Linked DNA regions of Homo sapiens: region 1 is linked to region 2. The links are contacts of gene promoters, found by promoter capture Hi-C in human tissues and cell types (Jung and others, 2019). All regions are on one chromosome and are shown on one strand. Each heading gives the region's core, a stretch centred on a gene start or on the middle of the fragment in contact. The rest is flanking DNA. Distances are from core to core; before and after follow the strand shown. Region 1 has its middle 3.4 kb from the start of MIR4460. Region 2 holds the start of ADAMTS19 (ADAM metallopeptidase with thrombospondin type 1 motif 19).

Evidence for each region. The method cuts DNA at HindIII sites, captures the fragments that hold promoters and counts their contacts. A contact is called where the count stands out against the background at its distance.
Region 1: a contact is called between a fragment that was not itself captured here and the fragment with the promoter of ADAMTS19 in region 2, in 1 of the 25 tissues and cell types used here (adrenal gland).

The regions. Positions count from the first base shown.
Region 1 is chr5:129,397,942-129,403,150 of GRCh38, reverse strand. No RefSeq gene overlaps it. Among named protein-coding and RNA genes, the nearest start is that of MIR4460, 3.4 kb to the right of the region's middle. RefSeq lists an enhancer at 4,060-5,048. The HindIII fragment of the contact is 6,025 bases long and covers 340-5,209 here.
Region 2 is chr5:129,457,976-129,463,112 of GRCh38, reverse strand. It overlaps ADAMTS19 (ADAM metallopeptidase with thrombospondin type 1 motif 19), which reads right to left and starts at 2,815. Exons shown (of 23, transcript NM_133638.6): 1 at 2,631-2,815; 2 at 1,356-2,011. The coding sequence starts at 2,721. ADAMTS19-AS1 (ADAMTS19 antisense RNA 1) reads left to right here and starts at 2,424. Exons shown (of 2, transcript NR_125748.1): 1 at 2,424-2,688; 2 at 3,034-3,554. RefSeq lists an enhancer at 2,894-3,856. The HindIII fragment of the contact is 8,605 bases long and covers 282-5,137 here.

The DNA.
Region 1 (5,209 bases), core at 2,103-4,602, 60 kb after region 2:
CTCCATTACAACTGTTTTATTTTTCACTGCTAGAATTTCCATTTGTTTTTATAGTTTGTAATTTTCTTCTGGAAATTTCAATCCTGGTTATTATTACTTCACACAAGTAGTATAATTATTCCAAAATTTGTGGCTGATATTTGGAGTCCTTGTAGATCTGTTTCTATGTTTTATTCTTGCTGCTGGCTTTCAGTCATGCTGCCTTAACTCCTTGTGCATCTGGTTATGATTTTGGGTAGTTTAAAAATTTTGTTTGAAATTTGTTTGGAGAAATCATTTGAGAATGAACATGTTATCTTGTTCCCAAGTCTTTTTATTGTGCTTCTGCTAGCTATGCGGGGGCAGTAGAAATCTGGGGTTGCCTCAATCCAATCTGAGGGATTGAGATTAGTTGAACATGAACTCTATTCTCCAGAAGAATCTTTCTATATAGAAATCACTCTTACCCTGGAGTGGGGCTCTTTGGAGTCCCAAACTTAAGTGAAAGTGATTCTATAATTCCTCTCCTTTTGAAGGTCCCTATACTCCAATTATTAGCTTCCTGTCTATGCCAGACTGTAAAAATGCACACTTCATCTCTGAGTTTCTTGGCTTTGCTGTTCAGTAATGGCAAATACTTTTGGGGGGAAACAACCCCAAGTCTCAGGCTTACCTCAGTAGATCTCTATCGTTTCTTCCTCAGATTCTGGTTTAGCAAATGTTAACTATCTTTTCCACTCTCCAGTGTTTTCAGAACACATTATTTTTTCCCCCAGGTTTTCCAGTTATCCTCATGAAAGTTTTGGTCCAAATTACCTAATCTACTTTACTAGGAGTAGAGGGGCTTCCAACAATTTGAATTATTATATCATTTAAATATCACTTGTGATTGCCCCACTTTGAATTTCTGATCCTTAATCAATTTTAAATTTGTTGTCTTATAAAACACACCCTTAATTCCAATGCAAGGTATTAGCACATTAAAAAATCAAATTTCTGTCTTTATTTGCAAAACTGTGATCAAATATAGATGTACTTTTTAATGAAAATTCATTGTATTTTTAATTCACCATCCATAAAATCTGTTAATTGGAAGTGTTCGTGAGGGTCAGCCTAATACAAATGTCTGTTAACATTAATCCATATCTTTCTATACATTAGATGAGTGACTTTGGGCATGTTTTCACTTACGTGTACTTTATTTTTCTCATAGATAATGTATAATAATGATACTTCTCTTACTGTTTAATTGTTAAAATGTAAATATGTTTTCCACAAAGTAAGTAGTCAACAAGTCTTTTTCTTTTTCCAAGACTGGAAGATTAGGGTTTTTTCCTTTCTATAATTATTTGTCCATATTTTTGGATTGTTAGAGGAAGTGATACAAATTTCTACTTGAGGCATCATCAAAATGTGTGTTCAAATTGTTGCCTATCTAAGTGAACCATTAGAGGGAAAAATGTACATGAACATTTTAATCCTGGTTTCAAGCTAATTCTGTCATTATTTTTACATGTTGAAAAATGAAAATGTATGGTATGCACATCAATTGACTAGTTATCTTTATTCTTCTTGGGTTATATCAATATCATCAGTTCCCTAAGGTGTTGCTGCAACTTCCCATTTTTCTCTTTTCTAATCTAACATATATAAACTGCTTTATTAAATCTACCGTTTTCTTGCAGGTTCTCTCTTATTGTATTGAGACATATTTTTCATAGAAGTAAGAAGGAAGCGAAATTTGTGTGTAACAAGTAATCAAACTCTTTTATATTTAGGAGTGAATTTTGGTAATCCATCAGTTATTTTATTTTATTATTATTTTAGAGACGGTGTATTGCTATGTTGCCCAGGCTGGTCTCAAACTCCTCGGCTCAAGTGATCCTCCTGCCTCAGCCTCCTGAGTAGCTGGAACTACAGGCATATACCACTGTGCCCCAGCTAATCCATCATTTCTTAAAGGAACAGAAGCTAGTTACAAAAATGCCTGTGGCTATGAGTGTAATACAGATACATATGTTTATACTTCTAGATTTTAGAAACTTGAATTCAGTACATGGTGATGAGTCTTGGTAGGCACATTTATGAACCCTTTCTTGAATTTGAATGGATCTAATTTTTCACAAGACATTAATATTTACCTAAATTTAAAATAATTAGAAAATATTTCAAAATGCTTATGACTTTGTCATTTCATATTTTTTATTTTAAATCTATAAACCACTTGGAAACATATTCCTAGTTAATGAAATTCTTACCCACTCTTATTAATAAGATTATACATTTGAATGGCAATATAAGCAACAAAAAATGCTTTCTACGACAACTAGTAACACAAAATTAACATATATTTAGTGCTAATTATACACCAGGCACTAACGGCACTTTTACATGTATTATATCACTTGATCCCCGATACAAATCTGACGTATCTGAGTTGTGAGCTGCCAAATGTATAGGCAAATAAACAAATACAGACAACTCCCAGATATAGCTTTTTTGTTTTCTTTTTTAAATCAACTTTCCTGGCTCTCCTCTAGTTTTTTTGTTCGAGTCAGTTATATGCCACCTAGTGATATTATAAAGAAATACAACTTATTTAGTAATATAATACATTTTCCTTTGATGGATACTTTTCCTGTAACACCTTTCCATTCTTTCTCTCCCTTCCCTCCCTTTCTCCCATTTCTTTTTTCACATATGGAAAGTCAGTTAATTATATGGTAGGAATGTAATACTTAACCATTTATGTTTGCTTGCCCCAGGCAACTCTAACATCAGAAGTTTAAGCTACTAATTAACAGATAAAAATCTCAGCTTTATAGTCATAAAGAAAAAGGAAATGAGAAGAAAAGAGGTCAAGGGAAAAATTTAAGTAAATATATTGAATGTCAATCACAGTCAGATATAACACAAAAGAAAAGTACTTTTAATTCAGTGTATTTTTAATCTCACTGAATGTATAATACATAGCATTATATCTTGTGTTACATTTCCTGTCCCTTTAAGAAATCCTAATTATTAAAATTCTTAAGTATAAAAATTTTCTCAAAGGAATAGAAAAACCTTAATTTCTTTTTAAAATGTCATTTGACCAGGCTATTTCAAAAGTTAGCTGCCTTATCTACATCTTCCTTTTTCATGTTTTCAAAAGAGAAAATTTATCTAATTACAGATTGAAAGAAAAAAATGTTATTGTTGTGATGTCCATATAATGTAATGAACCTGCCACGTATATTTCTCTATATGTTCCTTTTTGCCTCTATTTAAAAATGAGTTGATCCTGCTTCGAGCCAGGTCACTTATCACATAAAATAAATGAGGACAAGACTTAAGGCTGTGTATTCAAGGCCTGAAACAAAACTACAGTAGCAGCCTCAGGGTACAAGATCTTGAGTTACTTTCCAAAGGAACAATGTCTTCATTGCATATTACATACAAGTGTTGCATGAGACATCATCTGTGATAGGTTATTTGGGAAAGTGTCTTTGCCACCCAAAATATCCATCTAACATGCTAGCTAGACTCTCAGATTTTTTTCATTTAGAAATTCAGTTTGAAGTGATACAATTAAAAGAGAGTTCACTGTTTAAATGAGCCCAGAAGAAGTAACAGGTAATGCATACATACAAAAAATGAGTGTATATATAAAAAATGAGTGTCTGCCCACCAGCAGCACATCCTTTCCTCAAGGCTCATTTCGTAGCAGGTCCTAGAGTCTGAAATAATATGGGAAGAGGGAGAACATGCCAGAAAAACATATTTGCCTATTTGGTATTTTTCCTCGAATGGCTATAACCTCTTACATACTTAAGAATTTAAGCCTGCAGCAAAGCTTCCAGGCTTCAGGCATGCGCTAGGTGAAGAAAGGACTACAGAAAAAAGCCAGCTTCTGTCTAAAAGCTGAGTGACAGGGGGAAGAATTGGGAGGTGCCAAAGTCATGTGACAGCTCTTTGTGGAGGGCAGGTATGAGGAGAAAGGTAACAGCATCAGACCACATACTATCTGAGGTATGAGTGCTGTTAGCCTCAGATCCTGGCTTTAAATTAATGTAATTAAATTCCTTAGGGCACTGTCCTTAGAATAACAATATATCACAACCTTTGAAAGAAGGAATGCATATAGACCAGGAAGAGAGAAGCAGATCTAAATATCATACTAAAGAAGAAGAAGTATTAACACCAATTTCATGACTGTTCATGTTATTCCATATAAAACCAGTTTCCATACAATTTTTTTAAATCAGGCTCAAGTTGTCTCCATGAAGATGAGCAACAGTTTATGCCAACGATGTAGGTATTTTACAGATGTGTATGAGTTTCAAAAGATGTTCAGCCTCCAAATGGTAAAACATTATGTGCGCTAGTAAAATATGCCACTTTAATCAACAATAGTGAAATGATGAATTTTTTATATATAAATTATATAATAAGGAAATTAAGTTGCTTATCTCGTTTGTGATGTTTCCATAAAATTGAAACTTTTCTAAGTCTATCTCTCTTGCATACACATAAACATCATGCACACATATTTCCTTTTTCATCTTGAATTTCTTCTAAATATGCAGACTTCACAGGCCTGGTCTTGATGCCAAAATGAACCCCTTTCATTTGCTGATTGAGATCTGGCTCAACAGCCAATGTTTCCCGCTGGGTCCTTACAGAGGGTGCATTCACATTTTATCCTAATTTATTCATTATCAAACATCAAACCTTAGGAGGATAAAACAAAAAGCTAGTGAACAATGCAGGGAGAATGTGTTGGTTTGTTTTCATCTTCACTCTCAGATGAAAGAATTCTTCAGTAGCATTGCCTATTCTACCAATACATCATCCAGGTAATTGGGGGGCTTGAGGGGGGAATGACAGGCTGGGCCAAATCAACCTTCTGCATCCACTGGCACACACAATAACCTCCAACATCAAAAGTATCTAATGAGAACTTGAGAATCCAGGGCTTTATATTAGTTGACCCAATCTTGTAATTAAGTATCAAAACTCCCCATGCTTTTTGTGAACATTTACAAGCTGCATGGCAAGATCTCAACATATACAAAACAAAAGACCTTAGTCATACTTTCCTTCTAGGAGGAAAGCTTTAATGACAGCTCTGCACAAACACCAGATTTCTGTATCAAAGACCCCAGTTTCTATGTTGGTTTTGCTGCTTTGAGGTTGAATAATGAATAAGCCACATATTTTCATTTGTTAGAAGAAATATTACCTTCCT
Region 2 (5,137 bases), core at 1,566-4,065:
TCAGTTCCACATAAAACCTTTTAATAAAAGCTTCTCATGTAATTTTTCCATGCCAATTTTTTTCAATTATGCCTAAAAATGCCCGTATTTGAATATTCATCATTATGAGTACTGTCCAACAGTTTACATCATTTGACTATGGGATCTTGGGTCAGGGGAGGTGGTAGTTTTGGGTGGCTTTGATTGTGCTGATATTTTCTGCTATCCACTGCTGTTGGATTTTCTCCAAATGAGCAGTTTGCTTCCATGCAAGTTCTTGTGGATTTCTCAGTGGCTCACTATGAACAGCAAAATGAAGCCACAAATCACAAGTGCATTTTTGATATTTTATGAGTTTTGTCTTAAACCAATTAATAGTAAAGCCTATGGTGGTGGCAACAACCATAAAGGACATGGTGGTGTTGCACAACAACGTGAATGTACTTAATGCCACGTACCTGTACATCTAGAAACAGTTAAAATAGTAAATTTTATGTTATGCATATTTGACCCCCCCACACACACACACACACAAAGGTCAACTTATAGAAGCTTGTCCCAACCCCTGAATCGTGACAGAGGGAGAAAAATCAAATGATGTTCTACATTGACAGAGCAAATGGCTTTTACTTTCCATCCCAACAGGCCTTTTAACAAGGCTCTCCACCTTGCTCCTTTCCTCCAAAAAGTGGAAAGAAGAAAAGGAACTACTGTCAAATGAAATGTAAATCACAGAACCATAACCCTTTGAACACAGATCGGATTCTAATGTCACCCGTTACTCAACCTCCAGTCTCTCAGTTGAGTCCCTCCCAACTCCTTTCACAAGAACAGTGAACAGGTGTCCAGTATGACTCTGGATGTGTTTAAATTCTAGACAACTGTCAGAGTAATCCCCTATAGAACTGTTCTTTCAACTTTGAAGTAGGTTATGAAAAAGCTCTAAGATAACAGATGAGGAACTGAGAGTGCGGCGCAAACACGAAGGAGATTCATCAGTGAGCCGACTGGTTGTCTTTCGAGTTCCTAAAAGACATCACGTGGAGCGCTTAGTTTGGAAAACTCTGGAGAACAGAAAGAAGTTGAGCCATTGGGAAGAAGTTACGAAAAGGCAGAGTTTCACGCAGTTTTGAAAGACACATAACCATCTGGAAGGAGAAGGCCATTTATCCACCCAATTAAACTTCCGATTTACACAACTGCCCTGGAGATGTTCCATGGGAGGCAAACGATGTAGACACCTGGGGGTGCAGTCTAGGGCCAAGCTCAAAAGGAGCACACTGAAAGGGGAGAAGGTGCATGCAAATCATCCTGACCTATGGGCAAGGAGAGGAGCAGCAGGGGAAAATGGAGAGCTAGGGAAAGAAGGCGCTTACCAGGCCACCTCCACAGGTGCTGAAAGAAGCCAGCGAGCCAGGGTGCCGCAGCACAGCTCCGGTGTAGAAGCAGCCTGCGTCTGGTGGCGCGGGAGGTTGCGGGGCGGATGCTGCCCCCGTGGGGCCGGGGCCGGGATTTGGCCGCTGTTCCACTGCGAAGCGCGGCGCCAGGAAGCGGCCGTCTCTCCGGAGCAGCAGGTACAGGTCCCGAGAGAAGGCCGGGATCCGCAGCAACACTTCGTCGCCATCCGGCTCGGCATGCTGGGCCGGGGGCGGGGACGGGGGCGGCTGCGGGGGAGGCGGCGGCTGCCACGAGGCCGGGGCGCCCGGGGACAAGGCGGCAGCCCCGCTGGATCCCCGCGGCAGCTCCTGCGACTCGAGCTCCTCGTCCTCCTCACCCTCCGACGGCGGCGGGGGCCGGAGCCGGGACTCTGATCGGCCCTCCACGGGCTCCTCCAAAGGCACCGGAGCCACAGAGCGCACCTCGCGTGAGCTGCCGGCAGCCTGCGCCCGGGCGCTTCCGCCGCCCCCAACGCCGCGCACCCAGCCCGGGTCCGCGCTGCCCCCGCTGCCGCCAGCCGGGTCCACCGGCTCCCGGCGCCAGAGCGCAGGAAACACGACTTCCCACTCCTCGCGGTCGGGGGCGAACTGCAGCTCTGCGGGCGGGGCAGACAGAAGTGCGGGGCTTAAAGTGCCGCGGTTCCAGTAGCACAAACATTTCCAAGCTCACAGTCCATAGATACAGGGCGCTCGCGTTGAATGCAATGGAGACCACCCGTCTAGACCCTGAAACTCTGCAACCCCAGAAGCCTTGCGATCAGATTACAGACCCCAGCATTTTCAGAGTAAAAGTACGATTATATTAGGGGCGGGGGAGGGGGAATCAAAGTTTGGTGACCGCACTTCATTGTTGAAAAGAAAACCGATGCAAAGACTCCAGCACGAGTAAACGATTTCTGAAGTGTATGCTAGAGCAGAGCGTTGCTATCAACTTAGGTACGTTCTAATTTTCCTCCAGGTGCTGTAAACGTACCTTTGCAAATATTATTGCTCTAATTAGAAGGAAACTATTCCACATACGGTTAAAACGAGGCCGGCAGAAGTGTGCTTCATTTCCGAACTTGACCCCTTAACCTGCACCTCAAGCTCATTTTTATTGCTACCCACTGAGCCCTGCTCTCCACGCACCGGTTGCACCAGCCCTGCCGACCCGTACGTTCGCGGTCTCCGCTGGGATGGCTGGAAAGGAAGCGAGAAAGTCACGGAAGAACTTACCTGAAACGATCCCATTCGACAGGAACCCCAGCTGGTAAAGGAGGCAGCAGCAGCAGATGTGAGTCAGGCGCATCTCGCGGTTCTTCCCCATACTGCGCTCCCGCGGCCGCGGCTTCTCGCCCGGCGCACGCCTCCAGCGCGATCCACTCCGGGGCGCAGCGGCCTCCCCGGAGCGCTAGGAGGCCGGGCGGCGAATTTGCCCAGGCCCTTTGTCTGCCGGGGGAGGGGGTGTTGGGGTGGGGGGGTAGGCTGTGTGACTCCGGGAGGCCGCCGAAGCCCTGGCGGGGGTGGGGTGGGGTCGGGTTGGGGGAGGAGCGGGGGAGGCAGCCCCGCGGCCCCGCAGCCCTCGAGCTCCCTGGCGAATTAGGAGATGAGTCTATTTTCTGTGTTCTGGACGCTGCAGGAGTTTCCGAGGCCGAGCAGGCTAGTGCTGGAGCCCCACAAGACAGACCCACAGCCAGCCGAGAGCCGGGAGTGCTGCCTCTGGACAGGCAGAGGACTGCCCGGCGCGGGCAGGAGAGCTGTGGTGTCCGAGCCGAGGCTCGCCGCCTGCACCCGCGCGGAACGGGCGGAGGCTGGTGTCACAGTCTCAGCAACTTGGTGTGCCAAGCTCCGCACACTCCTCACGCTCCTTAGGACGCACCGCTGAAGGCTCTCACCCGCAGCGGCGCGGGAGGGAATGAGTAGGGAGATGGGAAGACACGACTAGAGAGGTGGGTTGTAGAGCAGAAAAGAATCAAGCACATCTGACCAGAAAAAGGGACCAAGGGGTGCCCGCCAAGCGTGACTTTGCGGGACAAAGGTCCCAGAACACCGTGCACGTGCTCAAACGCCGGTTGGGATGGGGTGGGGACCCAAAATCCCTCACCTGACTATTGATTGGCCACTCGGGAAGGCCTGATTTGCATCCATCCCCTGCCCCCGTGTGCAGGTAGAGGTGCCTCCCCCTTCCCATCCCACTCCTCAATCCAGCGCCTCTTTTTGTCAAATTCGCACATCACACAAGGCAAAAATTAGTGCAGACTTGACCACAAAACTGAGGCCTCATTTATCAAAGGCCTTTGATTTGTCTTCCCATCTTTTTCGGAATTTTCTAAGCCCGGAGATAATGTAATTCGTCATGGAATATGCTTTAAAGTTTCCCAGGACAGTAGGCACCCTTAGGTTTCAGAGCCTCTTTTCCTTCCTTGTCTTTCTAGCTCCCCATTCATCAGTACTATCAGTTTCTCTCCTTCCCCTACCCCACCCCATTACACACACACACACACACACACACACACACACACACACACGAGTCCTAAAAGGAGTAAGAGTAAGGGAATCAACATTAAACATTATATTCTAAAGATCTCAGACCAGGTGAGATTATTTTGTCTTCTGTACTTTTTACTTGTACATAAAAAAATATGTTTTTGCTGTTTCTGTCCTCTTTGGGGCAATTCAACCCCATATATTTTTTTTTCCTTTGTTGCAATTCTCTTCATGGTACCTACTCCCCTTTCCACAACTCTCCCTCAGCCACATCAAAGCGTTCACATCCGATTTAAGGATGATTGATCTGAACTGCCATTTGCATCCTCTGGACTAGGCCAGACACCTAGAAATGATAATTAATGCAAATCAGTTTTTTTTTTTTTTAATTCCAGAACTGAGGTTGGTTCACCACTTCCTTTGTTATTTTACCTTCTGTTCCTTGTGTCAAAGGTGACTACTATGCCTTTAAGGGAAGCAGACGATCTTATTTCAAAGGAAAGCCATTGTTTGAATTAGCTGAGTCCTATAATACTTTCTTTGAGTTGTCCAGAGTTTAGAAACAAAGGCAAAAACACTCAAGGTGACTTTGTCAAGAGTGATCTGCCTCTAAACGCTGTCTTATAAAATCTCTAATGCTGGAGTAACTAACATGTGGGTTTCCAGATGCTCAAGAAATATCTGGGTTACTTAGAAACCTAAATGCTTTTTTTCATGAGACTCAATTTTACAGATTTAAAGCTAGGCAAAAAATCAGAGGCAGTTTATTTTTTGAGTATAGCAAGCTATTTAGATTGAAAGCTAATTTCAATGAAACACCTCCAGTAGGAGATGAGTCTTAACACGTTTCTCACACATATTTTAACAACAACAACAAAAAGCAGAACTGAAGGAATAATGCATATTAAATTGTATATATTTATTAGAGTACATTCATGATTTTTTAAAACCAAATGAGTTGTATAACTAAGTTAAATATACTCAGAAGCACAGCTTACCAATGTAAGTTTGCATTGCTGCCTTTTTTTCCCACTAATATATAATCTTTACCAATCCTTCATGGTAAAGGTTAATATTGTTATGGAAAGATTTGTCTAATTCCCAGATAACTCTTCTCTTTTTTCCCTTTTGAAATACTGTTATAATTTATTTACATATTTTAGAGACATTTATAAGTCATTTGGGTTTTAATGACTTATGTACTTATTTCTCCTACTAGACTATCAATGTTTTTGAAAGGTAGGAATGATTTCTTT